Regions from separate parts of the Homo sapiens genome. Here region 2 is linked to region 1. Evidence: promoter capture Hi-C in 16 types of primary human blood cells and fetal thymus (Javierre and others, 2016). All regions are on one chromosome and are shown on one strand. The core of a region is centred on a gene start or on the middle of the fragment in contact, and the rest is flanking DNA. Distances in the headings are between cores, read along the strand shown.

The links. The method cuts DNA at HindIII sites, captures the fragments that hold promoters and counts their contacts. A CHiCAGO score of 5 or more calls a contact.
Region 2: a contact is called between a fragment that was not itself captured here and the fragment with the promoter of ZFP64 in region 1, in 1 of 17 cell types (naive B cells). The highest score is 5.3, in naive B cells.

The regions. Positions count from the first base shown.
Region 1 is chr20:52,187,594-52,195,489 of GRCh38, reverse strand. It overlaps ZFP64 (ZFP64 zinc finger protein), which reads left to right and starts at 3,711. Exons shown (of 6, transcript NM_018197.3): 1 at 3,711-3,899. The coding sequence starts at 3,854. RefSeq lists enhancers at 2,830-2,959, 4,000-4,856 and silencers at 3,370-3,639, 4,000-4,239. The HindIII fragment of the contact is 28,170 bases long and covers 1-7,896 here.
Region 2 is chr20:54,199,344-54,206,759 of GRCh38, reverse strand. No RefSeq gene overlaps it. Among named protein-coding and RNA genes, the nearest start is that of PFDN4, 5.0 kb to the left of the region's middle. RefSeq lists an enhancer at 1,124-1,353. The HindIII fragment of the contact is 5,383 bases long and covers 845-6,227 here.

The DNA.
Region 1 (7,896 bases), core at 2,462-4,961:
AAATGGAGCTCATGGAAACATGCATGAAATCATTTCACAATAAAAAATGAACTGAGGATGCCTGTGTGCCAGGCTCTGTTCTAGGCCCCAGAGGATACAGGTAAATAAAATAGGCCAGGTCTATGCCCTCCTGGAGCTTACATGGTAGGGAGACAGATAATAACCAAAAATAATTAAAAGATAATAATAGCTAGGATTTATGCCGAGTTATATGAGTCAGGCACTATTCTAAGCACTTTACAGATATTGATTGGTTCCTCCTACAAAACAGCTTAATGAACTAGGTGCTACTATTATCTCCAAGCTACAGAAAACCGGGACACAGAGCAGTTGAATTTCCTATTCAAGGTTAAGCAACTAATCCTAGTTCAGCAACTCCAGGATTTGCATGGCAGTGGCATAGCCTAACTCCAGGGCCTACACACTTAACCACCAAACCAGTAAGGCCCAGACTTACATCATGATAAGAATTACCTGGGGCACTTTTGAGATATTTGCAGATTACCAAGTCTTACCCCAGAAAATTCTGATGCAGTAAGCATAGCTTGGAACCCAAGAACTCATTCTTTAGTGAGCCTTCCAGATGATGCTTCTCTTCAGGCAAATGTGAGATATATTGCTCTCAACAAAAGGAATCGTGACAATAAAAGTTAGAATGGTGACCTCTGCAAGATTGGATAGTAGGAATAGTATTATTTTATTTATTTATAGTTTTTTGAGACAGTCTCGCTCCATCACCCAGGCTGGAGTGCAGTGGCTCCATCTCAGCTCATTGCAACCTCCGCCTCCTGGGTTCAAACAATTTTCCTGCTTCAGCCTCTGGAGTATCTGGGATTACAGGTGTGCGCCACCAAGCCTGGCTAATTTTTGTACTGAAGAAAATGGGGTTTCACTATATTGGCCAGGCTGGTCTAGAACTCCTGACCTCAGGTGATCCGCCCACCTCGGCCTCCCAAAGTGCTGGGATTACAGACATGAACCACCTTGCCTGGCCAGAATAGTATTATTGGCTGGGAAGGTGCATGAGGGAGCCGACCAGGGCTGGAAATGTGTGTCTTGGAAGGGGACTTCCCAGGTGTGCACATATGTAAACATTCATCAAGCAATAAAAAATAAATATTGCCGTAAGCTGCGGTGCTCTGCTGGGTCATGTTAGCTAGACAGGTATCATGAAGGTGATGTCGCAGAGTCGCAGGGAGAGTGAATACTTTAGGTAAGACATAGGAAAGGTCTCTCTGGGAAGGCGACATTTCATTTGATGCTGGATGACCTAAAATAGCCAGTCCTGCAAAGACCAGGAAAGCAATCCAGGCAGAGGGAGGAGCAACAACAGCAAGGAGCCTGGTGGAGCTGCCTGGGCAATGCAGGGTGAGAGTGGTGTGATCTGCAGTGGGACTGGCAGGCCACAGCCAGTTACATCTAGCTCATTCCTGCCCCAGGGTTTTTGCTCCCACCAGTTCCTCAGGCTGGAATTGCTCCCCCCTCATCCTCACATGGCTGCATCCTCCCCGGCTCCTTGTTCAGATATTACCTGCTCGGAAAGGCCTGCTATGACCAGTTCTACAGCCACTATTACAGCCCCATTTTATGGTCTTTGGAGCCCTTATCACTAGCAAAATGTTGAGAACACATGGACACAGGAGGGGAACATCACACACCAGGGCCTGTCAGGGGGTGGGGGGCAACGGGAGGGAGAGCATTAGGACAAATGCCTAATGCATGTGGGGCTTAAAACCTAGGTGATGGGTTGATAGGTGCAGCAAACCACCATGGCACATGTATACTTATGTAACAAACCTGCACGTTCTGCACATGTATCCCAGAACTTAAGGTTAAAAAAAAAAAAGGAAGTTTTATATATATTTTTTATATATATAAATATATAATATATAATATATAATATTTTATATATAATATATATTGTATATATTTATATATAATATATATATACATAAATATAAATATATATTAAATATATTAAATATTATATATTAAATATATATATATTTACAGTACTGATTTGATTATTTCATGTTGACTGCCTCCCTGGTCTACCTCCAGCAGCTAGCCCAGTGCCTGGCACTTCACAAACACTTGAGAATAAACAGCTGCTGCAGGCAGAAACCAAGCCTTAGAGGCAGCAGCAGGGAAAATCCCATTCATTATACAAGCCATATTTACTAAGCCTACTATGTGTCAGGCACCAGCCAAGTCACTGGACTACATCAGTGAAGCAAAGAGATTTTTTTAATCCCCATTTTTACAGGGACTTACTGAAAATAAGGGGGAGGAGAACACAGATAATATACAACTAAATTATATCTAAGCAGATATACTCGAGATACATAATATGTTCCATCTAACACCTTTTAAGGACAAAGCAGGCCAGGCATGGTGGCTTACACCTGTAACCCCAGCACTTTGGGAGGCTGATGGAGGATCGCTTGAGGCCAGGAATTCGAGACCAGCCTGGGCAACATCTCTACAAAAATAAAAATTAAAAAGTGAGCCAGGGTGGTGGCCCACGCCTGTAGGGGGGATTGCTTGAGCCCAGGAGTTGGAGGCTGCAATGAGCTAGGATCCGACCACTCTTCCAGCCTGAGAGACAGAGAAAGACCCCCTCTCTAAAAAAAGAAAGGGAGAAAGAGAGAGAGGCAGAGAGAGAGAAAGAAAGAAAAGAAAAGAAAAGAAAAGAAAAGAAAAGAAAAGAAAAGAAAAGAAAAGAAAAGAAAAGAAAAAGAAAAAGAAAAAAACAGGAAGGAGACAGGGAGTGGTTGGGGGAGGAGGAGGGGGCTGCAATATTAGAATGATTAGATTAGGCCAAGCATGGCCTCCCTGAGTGTGAATTTGAATGCTGACCTTCAGAAGCAGGACAGACTCTATGGGCAAATCCCTCGAGGCTGGGAGAGGTCTGAGGCTTGGGAGGGTCGGCAGAGAGACAATAGGGCTGACGCAGGAGCCCGGGGGAGACAGTAGTAGTAAGACATGAGGGACAGAGCAGAGAGGTCACTGTCCTCAGAGTGTGGACGCCGACCAACACTAGGGGCATCACCTGGGAACTTAGAAATGCTCGTTCTCACGCCTCGCCCCAGACCTACTGAAGCAGAAACGCTAGGGTGGGCCCAACAGCGTGTGTTCTAACAAGCCTTTCAGGCGACTGCGATGCACGATAAAGTTGGCAGCTCCTGGAGCAGGGGTCCCTCCGCGCTACGACCCCACCTCTTCGCGGTCCTCTCAGTCTCCCTAGCGGGGCAAGGGACCCGCCCAGCGCTTTGCTGATTTGCCCAGCGCTCACGCCCAACCTGGGTTTCTCCGGAGCTCGCCGCGCCCCGCGCACCCACCCCGCAACGGCAGCCGCACGTGGGTCTCCCCGCAAACCACCCAGGCGTCCCGGGAGCAGCGCTGCTGCACGGCCGCGCTGGGGGCCCAACGCCTGGGGTTGCAGGTGCAAAAGGCGCCCCGAGCCGGGGAGGCCAATCGCGTCCGCGGAGAACGCAGAGTGCGGGCAGGGGCGCATCCCTCGCCACCCGCGGTCGCCCAGCACGCCGGGACGCGCGTGGCCATCCAGCTCCCCGGGGGCGTTGGGGGGCTCCGCGGGCCTGGGCCTCGGGATTCGCCCGCCGCTTCCCCGGGGAGCCGCTGCTGCAAAGCCAGGTTGGGGCGCCGGGCCCGGCCAGCGCCCTCTAGGCAGCGGAAGTGCAGCTTGCTTTACATCCGTCCTCCCCGCCTCGCAGAGTTGGGAGAAGGCAGGGTGGGGGGTGTGGAAAAATAAAAGGAAAAGTCCTTGCACCATGTAGATCAGCGTCCCCCACTTTGGCATCCCGGCCGGCCGGGGACCTCCCAGTCTGCGGCCATGAACGCGAGCAGCGAGGGCGAGAGCTTCGCGGGCTCGGTGCAAAGTAAGTGCTTTTCCGGGAGCAGTGCGCGCTCCGGGGCCCAGTGCGCGCTCCGGGGCCCGGGCCCAAGCACGTCTGCGACGCAGCCAGCAGGCCCGGGGCCCCGAAATCGGGGTGACGGCTCGGAGCCGCGTCTCGGGGACCGCGGCGGGCGCGCTGTGCAGGGGGCGCCGGAGTGGGCTTGGGGTGGGGGCGCACCCGACCTGGCGCAAGACCGGGGGCGCTCTCCAGCCTTGCGAGACCCCTTGGAAGGGAACAGTGGGGGAGGGCACGCCGTTCAGACAATCGCCACCCCCTAAGGGCATTCCCGCCCCATCAGGCGGAGTTTGGGGCGGGCAGGAGAAAGGGAGGAATCTAGGGTAAACGGGGCAACACTGATGGGAAAACTTCTGCCTCAGTGGCTCAAAATTAGAGCCTGGAGATTGGGGGAATCACCAGGTCTCACGAGGTCCTGCCGGCTCATTGCAAAGCCTTTTCCTCATTAAGGGTGGAGATCTGAATGGAAAACGGGGCCGTGGTCGCTTTATTTGGGTTTGGGGTTCAGTTTTTATTTAACCGAGGAGGACATCAGCGTTTTTCAAGTCCCTGGTTTCTCCCGGTGCATTGTTTCCCAAAGTGTGGTCCAGAGACTGAGTGCAACCAGCCACCTGGGAGCGAGAGCGTGTATTTTAAAACAGCTTTCTGGGCCCCACCCATTCAATCTCGGGGGTGGGGCTGGGGATCCGCTGTCCTTCGTAGCTGCCTGGGCAACTCTGAAGCACATGAAGTTTGAGAACCCATCTACCAGGGGTTTGCAGAAAATCTGGCACATAGTAAGCTCCCAGCTTGTTAGCTGCTACTGTTAACAGTTTGGGAGACACTGGGTCCCAAACTTGGCGGTGTATTCCTTGCATTACTGTGAAAAGCACAGATTTTCCTAAACACCATCCTCCCCACCCCACCCTGTTATGACTCAGTATCTCCTAGGTGGGGCTCAGATATGTCCATGTTTAAATAGTGTACCTCAGTAAGAACCCAGCAGGTAACATGCTGGGGGACTGGCGGGGAGGGGGGACTGTGCTGGTACGAGCACCATCCCATTTAATTCTCATAACAAGCCCGTGTTTTTTCTTGGAGAAATTAAAAACAAACAAAAACCATGGATTAGAAACCTCTCCTCCCATTTTTCAGATGAGAAAACCCACGCTTAAAGTCACTGTTGTTAAGCGACAGTGTCAAGATTCTAACGAAGGTCTATGTCGTTACTTTTGCACTTTCCACATACCAGTGACATTATCTGTTATGAAAATCCTTTCATTCTGGGTGTCAGTCCTATTCCATCATTAAGGAATCGTCAGCAATGCAAGCTACTTCATGTCTCACTTCCTTGTTTCCTTGTTAGTTCCATGGGTATCTCAGTATCTGCCAGAGAAGAAAAGGTTTCCTTCCTTCCATCCATTGATTGCAAAGTGCTTAAGTGTATCCCTGCAAGATGGCTTATCACAGTGCTCAGCCCAGTCTCCTTAGCAAGTCAACCAAACTGTATTTCTGAACAGAGATTTCTTGTCTTAGCTAGACCTGGGGAAAATTGGACATAATGTAAATATCTTACAAATTTTCAGAAAATTATGAGGCATAATTTTATCTAACCATATATGCACAAAGGTAGTCTTGTATCATTTAACTTGGGAAAAATTGGAAATTATGTAAATACCTTATTGTTGCTGAGAAGATTATGACGCATGGACACCATGGAATAATGTATTGCCATTAAATAATCATATATATATGAAGAGATTTTAATGATATAGCACAATGTTTATGCAATGTTTAGGAAAAAGGGCCAGGCACGGTGGCTCACGCCTGTAATCCTAGCACTTTGGGAGGCTGAGGCGGGCGGATCACATGAGGTCGGGAGTTCAAGACCAGCCTGACCAACATGAAGAAACCCCATTTCTACTAAAAATTCAAAATTAGCCTGGCGTGGTGGTGGCGCTTGTAATCCCAGATACTCCGGAGGCTGAGGCAGGAGAATCGCTTGAACCTAGGAGGCGGAGGTTGCAGTGAGCTGAGATCGTGCCCTTGCACTCCAGCCTGGGCAACAAGAGCAAAACTCCATCTCAAAAAAAAAAAGGAAAAAAATTAGGAAAAGGATTAGTTTTACAATACTATGATCTGAATATTTACAATATTATGATCTTATGCAATTTTTTTTTTTTTTGAGATGAAGTCTCGCTGTCACCAGGCTGGAAGTTCAGTGGCATGATCTTGGCTCACTGCAACCTCCACGTCCCAGGTTCAAGCAATTCTCCTGCCTCAGCCTTCTGAGTAGCTGGGATTACTGGCACGTGCCACCACACCCAGCTAATTTTTGTATTTTTAGTAGAGACGGGGTTTCACCATGTTCGCCAGGATAGTCTTGATCTCTTGTTGTGATCCACCCATCTCGGCTTCCCAAAGTGCTGGGTTACAGGCGTGAGCCATCTTACGCAACTTTTAAGTGTAAAGAAAATGAATGGAAAAAAATATTTTATAATATTCATGGTAGGCAGAGATGGAAATATTGAGTGATTTTCCCCTTCTTTATAAGTTTCTTCTAAATTTTCTTATAAACACGAGTTATCTTTTTTTTTTTATGTGAGACGGAGTCTCGCTCTGTCGCCCAGGCTGGAGTGCAGTGGCACAATCTCAGCTCACTGCAACCTGCGCCTTCCGGGTTCAAGCAATTCTCTTGCCTCAGCCTCTCTAGTAGCTGGGATTACAGGTGTGTGCCACCACGCCGGGCTAATTTTTTTTGTTTATTTTTAGTAGAGATGGGGTTTCACCATGTTAGCCAGGATGGTCTCGCTCTCCTGACCTCATGATCTACCCGCTATGTCTTTATTGAACAAGTATTTATATAGTAGCTTCTAATACAGTGCCAAATACTACACTAAGTGCTTTCCAGGTATTAATATAGTATTAATTCTTGATATGATTAGTATCAAGAAATAATGTCGGCCGGGTGCGGTGGCTCACTCCTGTAATCCCAGGGAGGGATTTGGGAGGCTGAGGCGGGCAGATCACGAGGTCAGGAGATCGAGACCATCCTGGCTAACAGGTGAGACCTCATCTCTACTAAAAATACAAAAAATTAGTCGAGCGTAGTGGCGGGTGCCTGTAGTCCCAGCTACTTGGGAGGCTGGGGCAGGAGAATGGCGTGAACCCGGGAGGCAGAGCTTGCAGTGAGCCGAGATCGCACCACTGCACTCCAACCTGGGTGACAGAGCAAGACTCTGTCTCAAAAAAAAAAAAAAAAAAAAAAAAGAAAGAAAAAGAAATAATGTCCCTGCCAGTTAGGAATGAATTTTGGCTACAAGTAGCAGAAACCCAAATTATACTGGCCTAATGAAATCTGGAATTGATTGATTGCAGTGTTGAATCAGGGAAATCAGTGAAGTAAAGGGCAGAGCCCATAGGGATCTTGGCATTTTTCTCATAGTTACAAGATGGCTGCAGAAGCCCCACCATCACATTTGCATCCAAAGCCAGAAGAAAAGGGGCACATTGCTAGCCACATCTGCTCCCTTTTCATCACAAATGCCAAACTTTTCCCAGAAACTCCTCCAGCTGTGTGCTGGAGAAGTTCACAAGTATGTAGAGGACCAAGATTATTTAGACTATTGGTTCTCATAGTATGTGTTTTGGGTGAGTATGTTTGGAAATGTGCGGGAGGATCAGTTTTCACAATTACCTTTTAGTTGGGATAGGAGGTGGCTGCTGGTTCTGCAAAGTGCAGGACATCCCTTTTATCTTTGATAAAAGAACTTTCTTGCAAACAATGCCACTAGTGCCCCATGGGTAACAATGCAGCGTGAACCATCACATGGATGGTTGCTATACATTATTTCCAATTTTCCCCAAGTTAAATAATACAAGACTACCTTTGTGCATATGTGGTTGGATAAAATTATGCATCATAATTTTCTGAAAAAAAAAATTATTTTTTTTTTGAGACAGAGTTTCACTCTTGTCCCCCAGG
Region 2 (7,416 bases), core at 2,287-4,786, 2.0 Mb before region 1:
TCTCTCCAAATACACTGTTTAGTTGCCTAGTTGTAGGTATGAAAAACCCCAGCCTCATACAAATCATGTAGTTGGGAAAGGGAGGCCCTCATGGATCCCTGAAAAGGTCTCAGGGACCCCCGAGGTTCATGGGCCACAGCTTGAGAACTGCCCCTGACAAGCCTCCTCCTTTCTCAAAGTCCCAATTTCCTCTTTGGTTAAATGAGGGGAATGAGACCTTATAGCACCCTGTGCCCTCCCCACCGAACCACCTAGCCCGCCACGGGCATCGCCTGTTCTCCTGCCTATTCTGGGCTCTCCAGGCCCTTAGTATTGGGACTTTCCAGTGTGTAGCTCATATGTGCTCAAAAAAGTATTTGTTGAATAAAGATGTTTTTCCAGGGTTAAATCTTAGCACCGGGTCTGGCACATAGGAGATGCTCCATCAGTGATATCTGTTTATTCCAGAGCTCAATGTAAAAGCACTGCAAGAAACAAATGGTGGAGAGGGAGACAGAAATAAAGGGCAAAATTGTCACAAATGGTACCAAGTGCATGAAGGAGATAAATGAGGTGCTGAGGCAGAGCACAGAGGGGAGGGGTGGGGGCCAGCTCTGGAGCTGGCCTCTAAGCTAAGAGAAAATGGGAGGCCTCAGCATGGGGAGAGGAGACGAAAGTGGACCCCAGGGGTGGAGGGCTGAGAGGGAAAGAGCCTGGTGAGACATGGTAGAAAGGACAGAGCAGCATGGAGCGAGGCTGGGGTGCAAGGCAGGGGCCAGATCTGGGCATGTTTTAGAACTTGGTGAGGCCAAACTGGGGGAGGGAGAGAGAGAAAGAGAGAAAGAATTCTGACTTTTTCAAAGCTTTATTGAGAAATGGCTGAGTTGAAAGCTGAGGAACAGCGGAGCAGGAATTTTGAGGAAATGTAATTGTATGGTGGGGACCGAAAGTAGCATAGGGGCTTTGAGAGAGAGAAGCACTTCAATCCTCAGGTGCATAGATCTTAGGACCAGAAGGGACCTAAACTCTCACCTACGTTAACCTTTGCCTTTTGCTGAAGTATAATAATAATGAGAGTTCATATGGTTTGGCTGTGTTCCCACCCAAATCTCCTCTTGAATGGTAGCTCCCATAATTTCCATGTGTTGTGGGAGGGACCTGGTGGGAGATAATTGAATCATGGGGGCGGTTTCCTCTATTCTGTTCTCATGGTAGTGAATAAGTCTCATGAGATCCGATGGTTTTATAAGGGGTTTCCCCTTTCTCTCGTCTCATTCTCTCCTGTCGGCCACCACGTAAGATGCGCCTTTTGCCTTCCACCATGATGGTGAGGCCTCCCCAGCCACGTGGAACTGTGAGTCCATCAAATCTCTTTTTCTTTATAAATTACCCAGTCTTGGGTATGTCTTTATCAGCAATGTGAAAACGGACTAATGCAATAGTAACAGTAACATACAAAACTGACAGGGTACATACTATGTGGCCTGCACCTTGCTAAATGTTTTAATCCTCACCATACCACACAATATTGTTATCGATCATTTTACAGGAGAGGAAATAGAGTTTCAGGAGGACAAAGCTACTTGGCCAAGGCTCCAGCAGCCAGGAAGTACCAGAGCCTGGGTTCGAACTCTTGGTGAACCTGGCTCCAGAGACCACTCTCCTAAGCACCAGGCTTTACCCATCACCACAAGTCATGTATAAAGTCAGATGTGTCCCCGAGTGGGCAGCTCATAGTGGACATTGCAGCTCCTGTCACCTGACTTGCATGAGTAAAGTGTTTAAGACTCAATAAAGGGCTTACTGGAGCCAGACTGCCTGCGTTCAAATCATACCTGCACCACTTTCTAATTTTGATGTTAGACAAGTTACTTTCATGGCAAAAATAATAATGTGTCTCTAATAGGCTTGTTGCAAAGAGTAGAAGAGATAATACGTGCAAATAAAATGCATTGTAAGCTCTCAGGAAATGTTAGCTATGATTACTTTCTCAGTTCAGCCCAGTTGCGTCTGAAATTCCACTGCCCAAGTTATGATCTTTCAAATCTCCTCTTCAAGAACTCCCCTGGCTTGGTATTACTGCTAACTACCCCCATGGCCATGATTAGTGCTGCCTTTTGAGACTGTAGCATCCATTTCAGATGTGTAGAAATTGGAAAGCATCCTGGGGGAGAAGAATGACAATGGTTAGAAGCCATCCCAGCCGGAATCTTTAAAGCAGACCCCAAGGCAAAGGCCTAGATACTGCTTCTTCATTAAGGAGTACAATCCCAGGGCAGCCAGAGCGAGGAAAAAGCGGAATGAAGCAGGTCAGGGAAGGCAGCAGAGCCCATACCAGGAGGCCTCACCAAGCCGACCTTTGCTTGGTATCAAGCACGACTGGTTGCTCCCTCTCTGGGGACTGTCCTGTAAGAGGCTGTGTTAACCAGAACACAGGAGAGTTCAGCTGGGGAGAACTCTTATTTGCCAGTTCCTGCCTCCCATTCAAAGGCTGGCCCCACGGGGACCTCACTCCCAGACACTTCCAGGTTGCTCATTGAGGCTCCCATAATTTTTCTCACCTCAGCCTTCCACAGGGAAGCCCCCAGGTGGAGGAACAAGGTGTGAGGCTGTAAGCACGAGCCAACTGGACGGAGAGGCAGCCCTGCAAGTCTGCACACCATGGCCGGTGTGGAGCTGGTCACTGTGGGAGCTGCTGGGGTGGAGCAGGTGGCCAATGGCAGGTGAGAACAAAGACAGGTTAAACCAAGAGGCTTTAACATGACACATCCTTAGGTGCTGTCTAACACTGAGGCCCATAAAATCAGCCAAGAAGTTCAGGTTATAACATACTGAAGAGTCAGTGAATTAAATTCTTTTAGGACTTTAAAATTACATTGGACAAACCACAGAATGAGAGAAAATATTTGCAAACTAAATATTTAGTTTAATATTTAATTAAGAAATAAGGCAAGAAAAAAGGGATTAACAGCCAGAGTATATGAGGAGCACAAACAACTCAATAGGAAAAAAACTAATAGTCCAGTTTAAAAATGGGCAAAAGATCTGAATAGACATTCTTCTAAAGCAGGCATACAAATGGCAAATGGAGATATGAAAAGGTGCTCGACATCACTGAACATCAGAGAAATGCAAATCCAAACTCCAATGAGATATCAGCTCATCCCAGCTAAAAATTGCTTTTTCCAAAAGACAGACAATAACAAATGCCAGAGAGGATGTGGAGAAAAGGGAACCCTCATACGCTGTTGGTGGGAATGTAAATTAGTACAACCACTGCAAAGAACAGTAGAGAGCTTCCTCAAAAAACTAAAAATAGAGCTACCACATAATCCAGCAATTGCACTGCTAGGTATATAACCCCCAATAAGGAAATCAGTATATCGAAGAGATGTCTGCATTCCCATGTTTATTGCAGCGCTATTCACAATAGCCAAGATTCAGAAACAACCTAAGTGTCCATCAACAGACGAATGGATAAAGAGTTGGTGGGAGTGTAAATTAGTTCAACCATTATGGAAGAAAGTGTGGTGATTCCTGAAGGATCTAGAACCAGAAATACCATTTGACCCAGCAATCCCATTACTGGGTATATACTCAAAGGATTATAAATCATTCTACTATAAAGACACATGCACAGATATGTTTATTGCAGCACAATTTACAATAGCAAAGACTTGGAACCAACCCAAATGCCCATCAATGATAGACTGGATAAAGAAAATGTGGCACATACACACCATGAAATACTATGCAGCCATAAAAAAGAATGAGATCATGTCCTTTGCAGGGACATGGATTAAACTGGAAGCCATAATTCTCAGCAAAGTAACACAGGAACAGAAAACAAAATGCCACACATTCTCACTCGTAAGTGGGAGTTGAACAATGAGAACACATGGACACAGAGAGGGGAACATCACACACCAGGGCCTGTCAGGGGTAGGGGGCAAGGGGAGGGATAGCATTAGAACAAATACCTAATGCATGCAGGGCTTAAAACCTAGATGAAGGTTGATGGGTGCAGCAAACCACCATGGCACATATACCTATGTAACAAACCTGCACGTTCTGCACATGTATCCCAGAACTTAAAGTAAAATGAAAATACAAAAGAAAATGTGGCACCTATACACAACGGAGTACTATTCAGCCATAAAAAAAAGAAAGAATGAGAGCCTGTCATTTGCTATAACATGGATAAAACTGGAAGACATTATGTTAGGTGAAATAAGCTAGGCACAAAAAGACAGATGTTGCGTGTTCTCACTGATTTGTGGGAGCTAAAAGCCTTAAAACAACTGAACCCATGGAAATGGAGAGTAGGATGGTTACCAGAGGCTGAAAAGGGTACTAGGGGACGGGGAAGTGGGAATGGTTAATGGGTATAAAAATTAGTCATCTAGAATGAATGAGATCTAATATTTGATAGCACAACAGGGTGACTACAGTCAACAATAATTTATTGTACATTTTAAAATAACTAAAAGAGTGTAACCGAGTTGTTTGTAACACAAAGGATAAATGCCTGAGGTGATGGATGCACTATTTACCCTGATGTGATTTTTTTTTTTTTTTTTGAGACAGAGTTTTGCTCTTGTTGCTCAGGCTGGAGTGCAATGGCGTGATCTTGGCTCACCACAACCTCCACCTCCCGGGTTCAAGGGATTCTCCTGCCTCAGCCTCCCGAGTAGTTGAGATTACAGGCTTGCGCCACCACACCCAGTGAATTTTGTATTTTTAGTAGAGGCGGGGTTTTGCCATGTTGGTCAGGCTGGTCTCAAACTCCAACCTCAGCTGATCCATCTGCCTTGGCCTCCCAAAGTGCTGGGATTACAGGTGTGAGCCACGGTACCCGGCCCCTGATGTGATTATTACACATTGTATGCCCATATCAAAATATCTCAGGTACCCCATAAATATTTATGCCTACTGTGTACCCACAACATTAAAAATAAATACATAAATGTAAATAACAATAATAAAATAAAATCAGATTGGTCCAAATGCTAATACATGTGCTGCCAAGAAACCCTGAGAAGCCTGCCTCATGCAGGGCCCACTTATTCATCACCATGCTTCCTTAATGTCCAAGTGCCTGGTTAGCTAGTCACTGAGCTGAGAAATTGCACCAGGAGACAGGGGCTCCAGAGACAGAAGGGCTAGGGGGCACTGTCTCCTCTAACAGGTGATATGGAGGTAGGGGCTGGATCCCTTTGGCTGGGCTCAAAGAAGCCATGGCTCCAATCGGATGCTCTATGAGGCTTTGGCTGCTCCATCATTATCATGAGATGGTGCACGCTTCTCCATGCATTAGTTCCCCACACAGACCATACAAAAGCAGAGAGAAAAGGCACTGGGCAGAGAGTCTGCGGGCACAGGGCAGTGTCATTGAATCTGGACAGAGGACAGTGGCGGCTCCTGGCAGTCTTGGTGCTGACTCAGCTCCCTCTGATGCCCCTATCTTCCCCTTGCTTTAGAGGTTTTCCTTCTCATTCTATTTCTCATCATTCTTGTCCCTCTCCTCTCCCCAGACCTTGCTATCCTTTGAGCTAATCTCTCTCCTAGCAGAAAAACTCGTTCTGCAAGTCCGCATGGTACAGGGACTTTCAAGTCTGCTGAGCATCTTCTCATTTCCTGATGTGGAGCATTTCCGACCTTTGTTTCTGGTCCTTTCTCCAGCTGGGGACTGTCCCTGGCTCTCCGGGGAGAAGCATGGGGTACAAGTGGAAGCATGTGGATCCTGCAGGTCAGGGAGGAGAATCAACAATGACCATTTGGAAAGACTTTCCCTTATGCCAGGTTGAAAACTGGCCTCCCACTGACTGGATCCAGGCTATGTTTTCTTTGACCCATATGGTATTTTTCTTTAGTGGAACCAATATTTGAGATTTTTAGTTTTGCTTGAGCTGGTACAATCAGCATCCTGGTGACATTGCACCTGTGTTTCTGCCTGATGGGCAGCTGCTGGTGCTGCTTTGGCCTGGCACATTCGGCCAGCAGGCTCTCTCCTGGGCCTGGCAGACCCCCCCACTCACAGAGCGCACACAGGTACATGTAGGGCACCTGCCCATCCATGTGCTCACCTGTGAGGCCCTCCAGGTATATGAACTTGTAACTCCCAGCCTTCTGTTTTAACATACCTAAATGAGAGCATTTATGCGTGTGTTTGTTTGAAATTTCTACCATGCTAGGTGCTATTGCAAGCAGAAAAATAAAGCAGACAAGGTGCTTGGCATCATGAAGCTTATGGTTGGCAAACATATGACCAAAGTCACAGCACCAGAAGCTGCAACCCTGGGGCGAGTCCAGGGGAGAAAGAGCTTGAATCTTGCTGGAGTGGTCCCTGAGGACTGTGGAATCAGTGGGATGTTGCTTGGACCAAGAAGGGCAGGTGCTCAGCATTGAGGGCATAACACTGAAAAAACAGACAAAACTCTTTGTCCTCATGTAGCTTACATTCTATTGATAGGAAAAAGATCATAACCAAAACATATAAGTAAATTATACAGTATGTTAGAAAGTTTTATTAGTATAAATGCTATTAATCGCTCCAACAAGAACTCATAAAATTATAATAAAAGACTGTGTGACTACCATCAGGAACACTCCGTGAGGAAGATATAAGGACAGAAATGGTCAGTATATTGACTGGAAAATGAAGAGAAAAAAAAAACCTGTTTGAATTGGTATGTAAGCTACAAAATTGTCCAGACATGTCCCAGTTTAATTTAGATTTTGTCACAAAGCGAGAATGAGGTTATCACATCATTTCCTGGCAGTACGCACCTGGGTGCCCTCCAAAACCTGCAACACCTGCTCCAGGCTCCTGGTTCTAAGATTTAAAAAGGAAACCTTGATCAGATTCCTCTTCCATGCTGGCCATGAGGAGTGAGAGGCAAGAAGGAGCAAATCCCCAGGATCACGCAGCAATTTGGTTTGGCGCCTGCAGAGGGCACCCGAGGAACATGACAGTGTTCCCCAGACTTAAATCATTCAAATCCACCTTCCGAATATTTTGCACTTCTTTTGAATCTTACTGTGCTGGGTAATGTTAAGTACTGTCAGTTTGTATTTAGCTAAACAATTTTGCAAATGGTTTTTCCATAACGCTGTTTGAAATGTTTCATTGTTTTCCCATTGCACTTAAATTTCTTACCAGGGCCTAGCCTCCCTCCCTGACCTTGTTTTGGACCATCTTTCCCCTCACTCACTGTGCTTCACCCTCTTGGGCCTCCATTCTGTGAATGCTACACGCTCCCTCCTGCCTCAGGGCCTTTGCACTTGCTTTTCCTGCTGCCTATGATGCCTTTCTCCTATTGTTCAGCCAGCTGCATTCTACCGTCTGCCTATCCTTAAGACTCAGCGTCTATGTTACTCCCATCAAGGAAGCTGCTATGATTTGAATGTGTCCTCCAGAGTTCGTAGTTGAAATTT